Linked DNA regions of Homo sapiens: region 2 is linked to region 1. Evidence: promoter capture Hi-C in human tissues and cell types (Jung and others, 2019). All regions are on one chromosome and are shown on one strand. The core of a region is centred on a gene start or on the middle of the fragment in contact, and the rest is flanking DNA. Distances in the headings are between cores, read along the strand shown.

Region 1 (7,531 bases), core at 3,468-5,967:
ACCATGCTGGGCTAATTTTTGTATTTTCAGTAGAGATGGGTTTTCGCCATGTTGGCTGGGCTGGTCTCAAACTCCTGGGCTCAGGCAATCTGCTGGCCTCAGCCTCCCAAAGTGCTGGGACTGCAGGTGTGAACCACCACGCCTGACCAACAATGTATAAATGTTTATTTTTATAAACTTTTAAGAGAGCTATCATTTTATTTTGGTTAGGTGAGGTGGCTCACACCTGTAATCCCAGCACTTTGGGAGGCTGAGACAGGTGGATCACTTGAGGTCAGGAATTCGAGACCAGCCCAGCCAACATGGCGAAACCCTGTCTCTATGAAAAATACAAAAATTAGGTAGGCTTGGTGGTGCACGCCTATAATCCCAGCTACTTGGGAGGCTAAGGCACCAGAATTGCCTGAACCCAGGAGGCAGAGGTTGCAGTGAGCTGGGATTGCACTACTGCAATTCCAGCCTGAGTGACATTATGAGACCCACTGCACTCCAGCCTGGGCAACTGAACCAGACTCTGTCTCAAAAAAAAAAAAAAATTGTATTTTGTTTACTAAAATACCTTTGTAAAAATGGGGAGGAGTCTCCTGAAACTTACGTGAATTTTCCTTATTTGAGAGAACACACCAGGTGCCCAGTACACTGGGAGAAAACACACTCATATGAAGGCACATCATTGTGATATTTTAGATCTCTGGGAAAAAGAAGGTTCAACACATTTCCAGAAGTCAGGGGGTAGAGGGAGATAAATAATTGAAATAAAAATTTTTACAGCCAGGTGCAGTGGCCCATGCCTATAATCCCAGAACTTTGGGAGGCCGAGGTGGGCAGATCACTTGAGTTCAGGAGTTCGAGACCAGCCTGAGCAACATGGCGAAACCCTGTCTCTACAAAAAATACAAAAAAATCATCCACCAGGCATGGTGGCCCATGCCTGTGGTCACAGCTGGCTTGGGAGGCTGAGGTGGGAGGATCACTTGAGCCCAGGAGGGGTAGGTTGCACTGTGATCATACCACTACACTCCAGCCTGATGACAGAGTAAGACACTGTCTCAAACAAAACAAAACAAAATTAAATCAGAATAGCTAAAGGACAATAAAAGAATACATTTTAAATTCTGAAGAAAAACATTTTCAGTCTAACACTCTCTACCTAGTTGAACTAGGAATTGTGTATAGAATCAAGCTATTCTGAAAGGTGCAAATTTCCATTTCCACATGCATGCTTTCTTAGAAAACTACAAGAGGCTGTGTGTCCCCCCAGTGGGAGCAAAGCAAGACAGAGGACACTGGACATGGGAAGCAGAGGATCCAACCCAGGAAAGAAAGGAAGAGAATCTTCAGAGTGATGGTGCAGGAGAGCCCAGTCGGCCAGCTGTGTGCAGGCCACCAGGCCAGAGGCTCCCAGAGAGGCCAGTCATGAAGACGATTCTGACAGAATACCTGATGTCTCTCAGCTTCTTGATAGGAGACTTAAACAACTAGGGTTAAATTAGTGACTAAATATCTGGAGAAATTATGAAATGAGAAAAGAGAATTACTAACACCAGGGCAAACAAGAAATTGGGCAGGAAAGGAAAAGCATTCATAGTCTACGCACTGGGTCAGTTGTAAGTGGTATTTACAGTGTCATAGGTCAACACTGGCTGCTGATCTAACCCAAATCACCTGAAGACTATACAGATGCCCCTTGACTTAACAATGAGGTTACATCCTGATAAACCCATCCTAAGTGGAAAGTATCCGAAGTCAAAAATGCATTTAATACCCCTAGCCTACCAAACATCATAGCTAAGCCTAGCCTATCTTAAACGTGCTCAGAACACTTAGGTTAGCCTACAGCTGGCAGAATCACCCAGCAGCACAGCATGCTGGAGAGGATGGGTGGTTTGCGCTGGTGATGGCATGGGTGGCTGAGAGCTGACCAGCATCATGAAAAAATATCTACCGAATATCATTAGCCTGGGAAAAGACCAAAATTCAAAATTCGAAGTATGATTTCTACTGAATGCATACTGCTTTTACAACATCTGTAAAGCTGAAAATTCCTAAGTTGAACCATCAGAAGTGTTTGGACCTATATTGGGAGACAGGAAGAGGGTATGTATAATTGGAGGCAGGGAAGAGGGCATCCCAGCTAAAGCCTCATCTTTCAGAGTAGAAAGGCAATGGATAATGTCTATGACTGGGTGGGTGAGGGAACACCAATAAACAGCATTATAAACACGTTGTTTAGAGCTCAAAGAGATGAAGACACTGGGAGAAACTTATATTTCTGCCTGTAGGACCGAATCTTTAAAATATGTGCATAAGGTGGGGCACAGTGGTTCATGCCTACAATCCCAGCACCTTAGGAGGCCAAGGCAGGAGGATTGCTTGAGCCTAGGAGTTTCAGAGCAGCCTGGGCAACACAGAGAGACCCCGTCCCTAGAAAAAAATTAAAAATTATCCAAGTGTGTTGGTGCATGCCTGTGGTCTCAGCTACTTGGGAGGCTGAGATGGGAAGATCGCTTGAGCCCAAGAGGTCAAGGCGGCAGTGAACCATGATGGTGCCACCGCACCTCAGCCTGGGAGACAGAGCAAAACCCTGTCTCAAAACAAAACAAAACAAACAAAAAAGGTGCATAATTAGCTCTGTCAAAAATAAAAACTATAGTAGTAATAAGGGTGATTTTGCTTACATGTTTTCCCATCTTTTTCAAAACGCTTAATGAAATCTAAAAGGATACATGCTAACATGTCAACAGTGATTATTTCTAGTAATGGGATTGTGGGCCACTTACATTTCTTTCACTTTTGTATTTCCTGAAAAAGCGCAGTACACAGAGCATATCGATAATAAATCAGAAAAAAACCCAAAGGCGTTATACTTCATGCCTGGCCCAAATCCACCCCAAGGTAGAAGGCCCATCTCTGTCATTTTAGCTTTTGTTTGCGCTGCTGAAGCAGAGGAGCCTGCCAACTCCTTCATTTGCACAGCAAATATTTGTTGAACTCCTAAAAGCTAGGCCCTGCAAGGCGATTCCAATACCTTCAGCTTTTGAGTCTCCTGAAGTCCTCAATACTCGCTGAGGGAACCAGCTGGGAGAGGAGCTAAGCCAACACTTCTCATACCTTATGTGCATTATGACCACCAGGGGCTTCATAGAGCAGGTCCGGGTGGTATCTGAGACTGGGGGAGCAAGCAAGCTACTTGAGGTACACAAGATTTACTTCAGGTTTCTCAAAGGAACCGCCCAGGTCTTCAGTCACTTCTGCACCATGATGGTGTGCCCATTCTCTAACTCCCACATAGGCTCATTTTCAATTCCCAAATATTTAACAAAAGTCTGTGAGAGATGACAGAGGGGCACTGCTGGGGCAGCTGGAAGCTGTCTCAACTGCTTGCAGTTATGAGCACGGCCCTGCAGAAAGGCAGGCCTGGGTTTGAATCCATGCTTCACCATCCACCGGTGTGATTTACGTCCCCTCTCTAGGCCTTCACAGGGGAGGGTGGTCGTTGGATTACACGAGGGTATGAGGACATCTAAAGGGCTTGACAAGATCCTGGTACACGAAGAAGACTCAAACAGTGACCACCTCTAACTGCTGACAGGACTCCAGTCCTTTCTCAGCTATGAAGGACTGGCTGGGACTTCTGGGAAGATCACGTGAGTTTTCAGCCTCTATGCCCTCCAATGAAGAGAAGAACGCCCATGCCCTGCCTCCTTCCCAGGAATGTTCTGAGCCTAAACCAGGATGTGCACAGCACCATGCAAAAGACCTCTTTGGTCCTAAAATAGGTTATGGCACTCAGATTTTATTCAGTAAAATTTTCCTGACTCACCTCAATGTTACTACCAGGGAGATAATTAGGAAAAGAAAGAAGCCCTTTCCTCTTCCCCTGATCTTAGGAAGCTTTATTTTCAGGGAGGAGGCCATCCACGTGGAGATCAGGTGAGAAAGGCACCAGGTGTCTCTGACACTCAACACAAACTCAATAGCCACTAAGCCAAGCTTCCTGCTCCCAGGATCTGCCGCCGCCACCGAGAGGACCCAACAAGCTGAATTTCTCCCACAGCAAGACATCCTGAGGATCACAACCCTTTCTTCCCAGGACAGCCCGAGTTTCCTGGACCTTGTTTAGAGTCTTTCACTTTGGGAAGAAGGCGAGGCTGAGCAAAAACGGTTCCCTAAAGCCCGCGGGAAGATCTGAGCAGGCTCCATCCCGAGAAGCACGGCGGAAGCACGCGCCGGGGTCCAGCTGAGCCCCCCGCCACCCCCGGCCCGTCGGCACTCACGATCTCGGCCACGATGAGGAAGCCGGGCAGGGTGCGGAGGAACTCCCGGTCGTAGGCGAAGCTGCTGCTGCTGGTGGAGAAGTTCTCTGCGAAGGAGCTGGCGGTGGTGGTGACTGTGTGCGAGCGGGCGCGCTGCGGCTCCTCCATCGTCGAGCCACTGCCGGGCTGGCGCGTCCCCAGGGACCCCGGCGGGTCTGGGGCTGGACGCGCGGCCCTGCGCCCTGGGGACACAGGCGCGGGGGAGGGGAGCGCGGCCCGCGCGGGGCAGGAGGTGCGAGGGGGGCGCCCGCCGGGGGCTGTCCAGGCGCGGCGGGTGTCCCTCTAGTGCGCGGTGCCCCTAGCGCCTCGGTGCGCGGGCTCCCGAGCTGCGCTGGGGCCCTAGAGGAAGAGGAGAGCGAGCGAGGGGAGGCTGCCGGGCAGCCGGGGAAGGCGGTGGAGGCCCGGAGGAGGGGAGGGGGCGGGGAGAGGGGCGGGCGGGAGGCGGGCAGGAGAGGGACCGCCCCGCGGAGGCGCCGCGGACGCCCGCCCTCTTCACCTGTTGCCCGACTCCCAGCGGCGGAGAAGGCGCCGCGTCGCACCCAGGGTGGCTGGGTTGGCAGCCTGGCGGGCGGCGCGGAGGAGAGGGCGCAGGGGTCCTTCTGGCCGTCTTCCGCTCCCCCTCCCGGCCTTTACTTCTGTCAGGCCCCGCCTGGCCCAGGCCCGCAGCCTGTTTCCTTCCACCTGGGCGGGTCGGGGGCTGCGGGCATTGGGGCCCCTTAAGGAAACCCAGGCCTCCAGGGACTCCGCCGCTCCAGGACTCGGCGCGGAGGGAATGACTGAGCGACGACCGAGGCAGGGGGTGATGTGGTACCTCGAATGCTGTGGAAATGGCAGGAATGATGACCCGGCCGGACCTTAGACCCGAGATCGATGAGAGGCCGCCAGCACTGCCCGGGAGACGGCCCGCTCTTCTCCCCCTCCTGCTGCGGCCGCCGCCAGAGCCCGGTGTTATTTCCTGCCCCTCCTGTCGGGAACAATTTGAGGAACCAACTTAATCGCTTGGCTTTGAGGGCGCGACGCTTCCAGGCGCTCTCCGCGGCTCTGTCCCGCGGACCGGTGGAGCCTGGGTGACGGCGCCTGGGCCGGAGGAGGGGAGATGTTTGGGGTCCCTGGCCAGGATGAATCAGCGTAACCGTCCCGTCACCCTCGGGGAAAAAAAATGTTTCAAGAAGGCTTGAAGGGTGTGATTTGTGTAATGTTAACTTTAGGACAAATGAGCTGTGCTTTCCTGGCATGGGAAGGGGATGGGGGTCCTCATTTAGTGAGGCAGTTTGTAACAGGGTCAGGGAAGAACTGAGCTCGGCTGCGTGCGTTTATCGGCTGTATGACCCAGAGCGAGTGGCTCTAGTTTTTGGACCTCAGTAATGCCATCTCTAAAATGCAGGCTTTGACAGATGGACCTCTGAACAAAAAGATTATCTTCCGCTTGGTCCCTCCTTCTATTTTGTGAAAGGGTAGCAAGAAACATTTTATCTGGAAGCCACCAAAAGAAAAGGAAATAATCTTTGGCTATAAATCGAGGGTATCTTTGATTCACAGTGAAGGCATTTCTGCTGATCTGTTCCAAGACAGGTTAAAAACGAGATCAGAAGGGACATTTTCTTCACAGTGTCTTATCAAGTGTGCTGAGAAGAAAGCAAAAACGACAATCTAATAAAATAAAACAAGGAATTAGTGTCTTTTAAGTCTAGGGCCTAGCCAGGAAGACCTCCAGGAGTAAAAGTTAAGGCTTCAAAAGCATGGCAAAGATGTAGATTTGGAGAGATTCCATCCATGTGCATTTGGTAAGCACCTTGGGCTGGTGGGTAAATTCTTAAAATTTAAAATATAGCACTTCTCCCTGGAGCAGTAGTTCTCAAAGTGGTCCTTGGACCAACAGCAGGTAAGTTCCCTGGGAACTTATCAAAAATGCAAGGTCTCAAGCCCCACCCCCAGACCCTCTGAATCAGAAACTCTGAGGGTGGAGCCAGGAAGCTGTGTTTGAACAAGCCCTCCAAAAGACACTGATGCATGCTGAAGTTAGCTGCTGCTTTAGAGAAACTGTTAATGAGTTTGGGGAAATAAGAGATACATACATGAAATGGCTGGAGGAGACTCAAGCATTATGCATGACATTTAGTGAACGTAAAAGACGGAGTCTAGACAACTTTATTTCCATAATATTAACAAAGGACAATCCTCTCTTAAAATTCCTGGGGTCAGATGAATTTCTAAATTCAGATTTTGTTTTTCAATTTAGAAAGGTAAAATGTGCATGTACCATATATTACATAATACCTTTGGTAAGGTCTGGGGTGACACTCTAATATACTAATTTTCTGCAAGGGAAATCATGAATGACATAAGTGTATGCTTGGATTATCTACTGCAATGTAATAAATGTTCACAAAATATTAGTGGCTTAAAATCACCATTTTATTTGCTCAGAAATCTGTTGTGTCAGGAATTTGGGAAGGGCTTGGCTGGCAGGTTCTTCTGCTTTGCATGGTGTGATTGGAGTCATTTACTCAGCTGCTTTCAGTTGGTGACTTGGCAGGGCCAGAAAGTCCAAAAAGTCTTCATTCCCATTTGAGCATTTCAGTGCCCTTTCAACTTGGGCTTTCTAACAGTATGATAAGCTCATGGTGGTTGGACTTCTACCTGGCAGCTGGCTACTGGAAGAGACTTTCTAAGAGGGGCAAATGCAGAAGCAGATCTCTTAAGGCCCAGCCCTGAAGGTTACACGGACTCATTTCCACCACATTCTATTGGTCTAAGCCAATGAATGACAAGGCCAGCCAGAGTCACGCAGAGGGGAAACAGATACCACCTGTGGATGGGAGGAGCAGTAAAGAATTGTGGCTGTCTTTTAATCTAGGTGAGATAAAGACAAAGACAATAAATAGCTTCACATCTGTTTAGGTTATGTTTTTCTACCAAATATGTTTTCTGCAAGCTCAGGAAAAAAAATTTTGGTTTCAGCTTTTGGGATTTCAGAATCACAGAGAAAAAATTATACACTGGTTGCTTGAAAACTAGCTGCCCCTTTCCAACTGCTGCCTACATTTGGGTGATTATCTTCCACCTGAAACTCTACTGATTGGTGCCCATTCTTCCAATAACACCCTTATCCAGTCCACCTTCCGTCTTCCTGCAAGAATTATTGTCCTGAAACCCCAGACTAAGGTACCACTGTGCACAGCATAAGGGCCTATATAAGATATTCAGCCTATCTC
Region 2 (7,531 bases), core at 1,264-3,763, 690 kb after region 1:
CAAAAATGTCTTGAAGACTCCTTAGAGCTACTCTGCATCTTCCAATTTAAAGTCAGATGCATGTGCAAATCAAAAAAGAACACACAGGGCAAAACTTTTAAACACACATTAACTGAAAACAGGATTCCTATTTTAGTACCATCTCTTAATTTCTGCCTTAACTGGCAGTGACAGCTGTCAATTTTTATCAGTATCCATTTGAAAAAGGAGGGTCTATTCTGATTTATAAAGGACATTTACTAAACTAATTGGAAAAAAGAAAAAGCAACTGACAACAAAAAAAATTACAACAAAATAAGAGGCTGTTAGAGCATTTTAATGGCACTAAAAAAATCTGAAAAAAAAATCTAAGATCACATACAAAATAGTATATTTGATCAATTAAAACTATCCGGTGACACTTTGCTCAGCTAAGCCCAATAGAGATGGAAATCTAAATAATGTAGGCAGAAGGGATGGGCACAAGTGTTCTTTCTCTTTATATAACGCACGCACAACGTGTATAACATATATTTAAGTCCGGCATAACTATTCATATATTATAGAAACAAATCTCCAATAAATATTATATGTAAACATGTTATATTTACATTTCTTTATTGTTACTAGATATTATCTAAATTAGACATATGATTATGCATTATACTATATAAAGAGGATTTCTAACAATTATTAGATATAGAAATACATAATACACGTTTAAGTCAGACCCATAGTCATATACTATAAATATAAAATGTATAACTAACAAGCATTATCCATAGTAATAATATCCCATGGCCCACAAGTTGGTGTGATGAAAGAGCCAAAGTGGTTGGACAACTAATAAACTCATAAGCAAAATGACCAACTTTCTGAGGACAGTCTCGGTGGAAAGCAACAGCACAAGGTAAACTAAAATAAAACAATCACTCAAAATAAGCAATGTATACAGGCCTGAGAACTTAACTATCATAGAAGTTAGTGGTATAATACTCAACTTAGTCACCAAGACAAATCAGGAGAATCAGGGGGGATGCTATCAATGAGCAGATACTCAACTGTCCCATTTGAAAAAAAAAGTATGTTCCTAATGTGGATATACTTGTTCCTAATGCAGTAATTCAAATAAACAAATAAAAAGATTTAAAACACTGAAGAAAGTCAGTCCTAGTTTTATTATCTCTACGACTTTGGTAAAGTTACTTAGCCTTAGGCCTCAGGCTCCTCATCTATCAAATAAAACATCTACATCAGTCTTTTCCATGAATTGCATGGAACATTAATTAAAAAAAAATTAAAATCTTACAGTGATTCATAAATTAAATACGGTAAATACCAGATTAAATAAAATTAACAGTTAACTGAACAACTTCTTAAGACTGTAACATGGTAATGTGTATTGCATATCAGTATCAAAGAATGTAGTAAGCAGTTTTTTTCCCAAATTCAAATTATCAAAGATTATTTTGCTTAGAAGTGTAATTTCTGGAATATGTGGTCTGCAGAACATACTTTGGCAAAATAATAATTTCTTTGTGCTCGCCAGGTATGAAGTTTGTTCCATATTACAGGGAAACCAAAACTTATCTCCCTCAAAGGGGGGAAGGTTCTTCACCCCCTTTCCGAACAGAAAATATCAGCAAACTAATGACGGAGCAGAGAAAGAAGAGAATACAAGGAGAATAAATCAGTTTTCTCCTACCTTTAGAGACAGGTTGAGGAGAGGTGGTCAATACTGAACTATAGGGAAGCTTTACCATCCTTAACATATTTAAAATAACTTAAATTTCTGTAAAATAATAACATGCATTAAACTCCTCAGAGAATAGCATGTTTGGTATACTCTATTTTAAAATTTATTTTGAGAATACAAATGTTAAAAATACATTTATTAAATTTTAAATGGGCTCATTTTGTTCCCTATTTTACAAATGAGTCATTTGTAAAACAGGGAAAAAAATGGCTGTTTTTTTCTCCCCGGTTTCACAGAAACATTTTTTTTCCCTGTTTTAAATGGCTCATTTTCCCTGTGTTACTATGCTCAACCTGGTGAAATCTTTTTGCCAAACTACTTGACACTTATACTTTATCACAGTAACATTATATCAGCATTATTATAGCAAATATGTTATACTTTAGTTTACTTCTTAGGCAAGAATAACTACCTCTTTAAGACACTTAAAATGGAAGAATTCGGGGCAGGAAAGAATAAAAACAAATGAGGCTCAATCATGCAATGGCTGGAATCACCACTCCTGTTCCAACCAAACAGGAAGGTAAATGACCAAACATTACTTGGTCAAAAGTCTCAAGATGCTCTGCATTTCATTACATGTCCAAGAATCCTTCCACTAAGTATTATTATTTCCACTCTGTCTTTGAATATTAGATCCAAGAAATCTGAGGTGACATGAAAATAAGTCATGCTGCCTGAAGCACTGCTTTTACACTGCAGAGATATGCTGAGGTGCCTTCAACACATAGAATTTTAAGGATCAGAAACTATACTTTTACACAGAACAAATCTTCCTAATTTGAAGGTTGGGAAGAAGTGTCTACAAATTTATTGTCTTTTTGTACTTGTTCAGGCTGTTTTATCCAAAGCTTTGCATTTTGGAATTCAGAATTGTTCTGTGGCATTTCAGTTTAAACCAACTGAGTTGTACTTGATGCGTGCCTACAGCGTTCTTCTGAGATGGACTCTCGTTCTGTCATGCAGGTTGGAGTGCAGTGGCACGATCTCAGCTCACTGCAACTTCCGCCTCCAGGGTTCATGCAATTATTGTGACTCAGCCTCTCGAGTAGCTGGGATTACAGGCATGCACCACCATGCCCGGCTGATTTTTTGTATTTTTAGTAGAGACGGGGTTTCACCATATTGGCCAGACTGGTCTCGAACTCCTGACCTCAAGTGATCCTCCCAAAGTGTGGAAATGACAGGTGTGAGCCACCGCACCCGACCTGCAATGTTCTTTTTAAAGTATATAATGCAAACATTTGAATATTAATTATAAATCTCTGGCTTCTATTATAATTTTGCAAAATATTTCGCCACTACATTTAAGATGGATTTTGAATATGCTGGCAGAACCTGGTTGATCCAAACGAATAATTTAGGGAAAAAAAATTGAGGAATAAGGAGGGCAGATAAGACTAGAAAGAACTTGGGGCTGAACTTACTGCCTACTCTGTCACTCCAGGCAAGTCCTCTCACATCAAACGTCCTCAGTCCACTCATAGCAAAAGTCACAGTTACATAAAAATTTATAAGTAAATAAAAATACTTGTAAATTCTTCCAAGCCTCAATTATTTGGAGGGGAAGGGGTACAACAGGTAGGTTGAGCAAAGCATCATGCTGATTCATAATTGTACACCTTTGCAAATGCTATTCTTTGTAACAAAAATGTCACCCTGGAGGCTGACTTCAAGGCCTTTCCTTTTAACATACTAAGCAGTACTCTCTCATCTGTAAAATGGGGGCAATAAAATATCTAATAGGATTGCTTTAAGGACCAATTAGGCACAAACTGGAATAAGATATCTGCAACAAATTTAACCCAGACTTAGGATGCAAAATACATATACATATAACCTCCTACTAAATTAGTGAGACTAAACAACCCAGTCTAAAACTTTGGGAGAGACATGAACAGATATTTTACGGGAGATAAAAATGATAAACACATTGTGGTAAGTGTTTCCAAAGATGACCTTAAACAATTCTGCCCCTACCTGTATATGCATCTCCTCTCAACATTGAGCTAGGTCTGTGTGTATTTTGAGAACAACAAAATATAGCTGAAGTTACTTGTGTCTATTCCAAGCTTAACCCTTAGTTGACCTGGCAGCTTTCTCCCCCTTTGAAATGTTCTTTCTCAGAACCCCGCTGCAATGCTGAGGCAGACTAAGCAGTCACATGGAGGAGCCAAAAGCCCCAGCTGAGGTCCCAATGGAACAAGATTCCAGATGACTCTCAGCTGTCCAGGCATCCCAAACATTCTAGTCCCAGCTGACTACAGCCTATTGAGCCTCCAGGTGACTACAATCATCTCAGCACCTCAGCTGACACATGAAGCTGAAGGACTCCCCACTCAACCCACAAAATTGTGAAATAATAAAATGCTGTTTTGTCACTAAGTTTTGGAGTGGTATATTTTCATAAATAACTGAAGCATATTTTGACAAAATCCCACTCCCAGGTATATACCCCAGCAAACATCCACACATATGCATCAGAAAACAGTTTTAATGTTCATAGTAGCATGTTTCACAATAGAAAAAAAACTGGATATTCAAATGTCTGTCAACTAACAGATGTATAAATGAAAGTCAAAGAGGAGGATAAATAAGCTAATACCATTTTTTAAGCTCCAAACAAAGCAAAAATTAGCAATATATTGTTTTCACAGCAGGGGTGTCCAATCTTTCGGCTTCCCTGGGCCACAGTGGAAGAAGAATTGCCTTAGGCCACACATAAAATACACTAACGATAGCTGATGAGCTTAAAAAAAAAAAAAAAAAACCACTCCTAATGTTTTAAGAAAGTTTACAAATTTGTGTTGAGCCACATTCAAAGCCGCTCTGGGCTGCAGGGTGGACAAGCTTGGTTTACAGATATATACATATGAGAGTTTTATTAAAAGATAGCAATGGAAACGTTAAACAAAATTCAGCATAATGTTGCCTAGTGCTAAGGGGGAAACTAAGGGGACAGGCTAAAGAAGAAACACAGCCAGATGTAAAATTGGTAATGTTCTGGTTTTGTGGTTGGCTAGGAGGTTCACAAGTATTTATCATTAAGTTTTATAATTATATATAGAATATGACAGCCCATTATATATGCAAGTTGTATGTTAAATATACTTCAATTTATTTAAAATTTATTTATAACTGTATATTATGTTGTGATTCTTACACAGTTATAACATCACTTAATGTTACATACTCTTTTCAAATGTCCAGAATGATTATTCCAAAAGGAAAACCTTTCATATAACAGCTGTTTCTATTTGACACTTCATTGAAATGCAGTAAATTATTTTAACAGCCAAAATAAAGTATTTAAACAGGTGAAAAGATCTTCCTTTCTAATGAAGTGACTGATTCATTTTAACAACTTTAGAAAAAAATCCTTATTTAAAAAGATTTTAGTTGCTCCTCAAACTCATGACTTATGACTGGCCTTTACAGTTTTAAGATTAGATTTATTTCATCTACTTCACAGTTTCATTATCCTGTTCCTTCAAATGCCATAAAGCTGCTTAGCATATTAAAATAAAAGCCTTCTTTAGCGATGGTCTAGAGTAAAAATCATCTTGGGATTGCAATTAAACTTATATGGAACAAGGTTATTAAATTTTAAAAATTAAGAGCATATGCAATGTTCCCCCCCCGCTCCCTGAGACAGAGTCTTGCTCTGTCACCCAGGCTGGAGTGCGGTGGTGCAATCTCGGCTCACTGCAACCTCTGCCTCCTGGGTTTAAGCAATTCTCCTGCCTCAGCCCGTCTAATTTTTGTATTTCTAGTAGAGATAGGGTTTCATCATGTTGGCCAGGCTGGTCTCAAACTGGCTAGTCTGGAACTCTTGACCTCATGATCCGCCTATCTCGGCCTCCCAAGTGCTGGGATTATAGGCATAAGCCACCGCGCCCCGTGCAAATGCTTTAAGTGTCAATGTCTTCAACAAACCCTGCTCACTGTAATAGATTTTTTTAAAGGCACACTGATGGACAAAGATTTGTTTTTAAAACAGCACACATTTTTAAAAGCAAAAACATCTTGTGAGATCATTACAGCATACTGTTTTAGGATTCACAGGAATACTGCCATTATTACATGGAATGATTCTATAACTAAAGAGCTGACCATTTTGTCAGGATTCAATGCATAATAAAAGAAAATAAAGACTTTATCTGGTTTATTTAACCCACAATATCTACAATATTCAATGATCCTCTCCAGTAATTAGACAAGAACAAAGCTATTTCCATTGCAAAGACACTTTAATGAAGACAAGCAACTTATTTTATCCCTAATGAGTATTTTTATTTAGTATCCTTTAACCTCTTATGGGAAAGTTTAAATGAGATCAGTCAGAGCTGTGATGGTTTCCTAAAGTGTTGCTTAATTTGCATATTAATTAACTATAATCATAAAGTTAAATCAAGAGCCATGAAACCAAATGAATCATTAATCCAACCCCACCCAAATTCATCATGTGCATGAATTTAGTATATTCTAACTAATGCCTATGTATGCAATGATAATTTCAATTCTTACTATTCCTTCGTATCAGAATATATTTCTCAAGTTCAATTAAAATGGCATCTTGTGAATTTTACTTCTATTGCTGTCATCTGTCTTTTTTCATTTCTCATTTGAAAAATAATAAAACTTTCATAACTCATATGGTTTTTGTATATTAACTGGTCTGTCTTCTCTTATTCAATGTTCCCTAACTAGTGAGTTAACACTGGAGACAGACCTCTGTAAGAGTTACTTGTACTTGGAAGAAATACTCAAGAAACTAAAATCTTCCTCAAAGTTCTTCCTAAGTTATCCATCCAGCCATTCATCTCCCAATTGTTGATGGCTGTCATGATGCTCACATATACCATTTCTTCCATAAGCATTATCCCTTTTCTTCATCAACTCTTCCCTTCTTCTATAAAGAATAATATGACATGTGTATTGAAACTGGGATTATGATGTTCACTGCACATGTGATCTTACTGACATCACAGTCAAATCCAAAATTTCAAAGTATTGCACAACAGAGACTTACTGTACTATTACTATTATGACCAAAACATAAAATGTGGTTACCATTAAAGATAAAGGATCTGTCTTAATATTCACTGTGCACTCACTATGTTCCTAATACTGTGTAGGATATTCTAGAAAGATTAGAAAAATGTTCTTGCCTTAAAGAATCTTTTGCCTCCCTACAATAATAGTAGTAAGTTATTATTATATTCATTAGAGGAAAAATGAGCACCAAAATTTAAATAATCATAACAGTACCTTACCAACTTTGGCAAAGAACAAATAACTTAAGTCTCCTTGAGTGTTTTTACATGCACAGGTGTTAAAATCTTCAAAATGGCTCTGGCCTAGTTAGCCAAATAAACAGTCCTAAGTAAAATTTAGTTTGTTTTGTATTAATAAAACCTGTACCTAGACCTCTCACGTAAGACACAGATGATCAATTGTGATTTCTGAGAGAAGTAGGCCTGGAATTTATTTCTTTCTCTTTTTTTTTTTTTTTTTGTGAGATGGAGTCTCACTCTGTTGCCCAGTCTGGAGTGCAGTGGCGCAATCTCGGCTCACTGCAACCTCTGCCACCCGGGCTCAAACAATTCTCCTGCCCCAGCCTCTCGAGCAGCTGGGATTACAGGTGCCTACCACCATGCCCAGCTAATTTTTGTAGTTTAGTAGAGACAGGGTTTCACCATGTTGGCCAGGCTAGTCTTGAACTCCTGACCTCATGATCCACCCTCGTGTAACCCAAAGTGCTGGGGTTACAGGCGTGAGCCACCACACCCAGCC

Evidence for each region. The method cuts DNA at HindIII sites, captures the fragments that hold promoters and counts their contacts. A contact is called where the count stands out against the background at its distance.
Region 2: a fragment that was not itself captured here is called in contact with the fragment with the promoter of CMTM8 in region 1 in 1 of the 25 tissues and cell types used here (mesenchymal stem cells).

What each region holds. Positions count from the first base shown.
Region 1 is chr3:32,235,866-32,243,396 of GRCh38, reverse strand. It overlaps CMTM8 (CKLF like MARVEL transmembrane domain containing 8), which reads right to left and starts at 4,717. Exons shown (of 4, transcript NM_178868.5): 1 at 4,278-4,717. The coding sequence starts at 4,424. RefSeq lists a silencer at 4,704-4,913. The HindIII fragment of the contact is 9,285 bases long and covers 1-7,531 here.
Region 2 is chr3:31,542,789-31,550,319 of GRCh38, reverse strand. The region is part of intron 1 of STT3B (STT3 oligosaccharyltransferase complex catalytic subunit B); the gene reads right to left. Among named protein-coding and RNA genes, the nearest start is that of STT3B, 14 kb to the right of the region's middle. RefSeq lists an enhancer at 2,716-2,885. The HindIII fragment of the contact is 3,366 bases long and covers 831-4,196 here.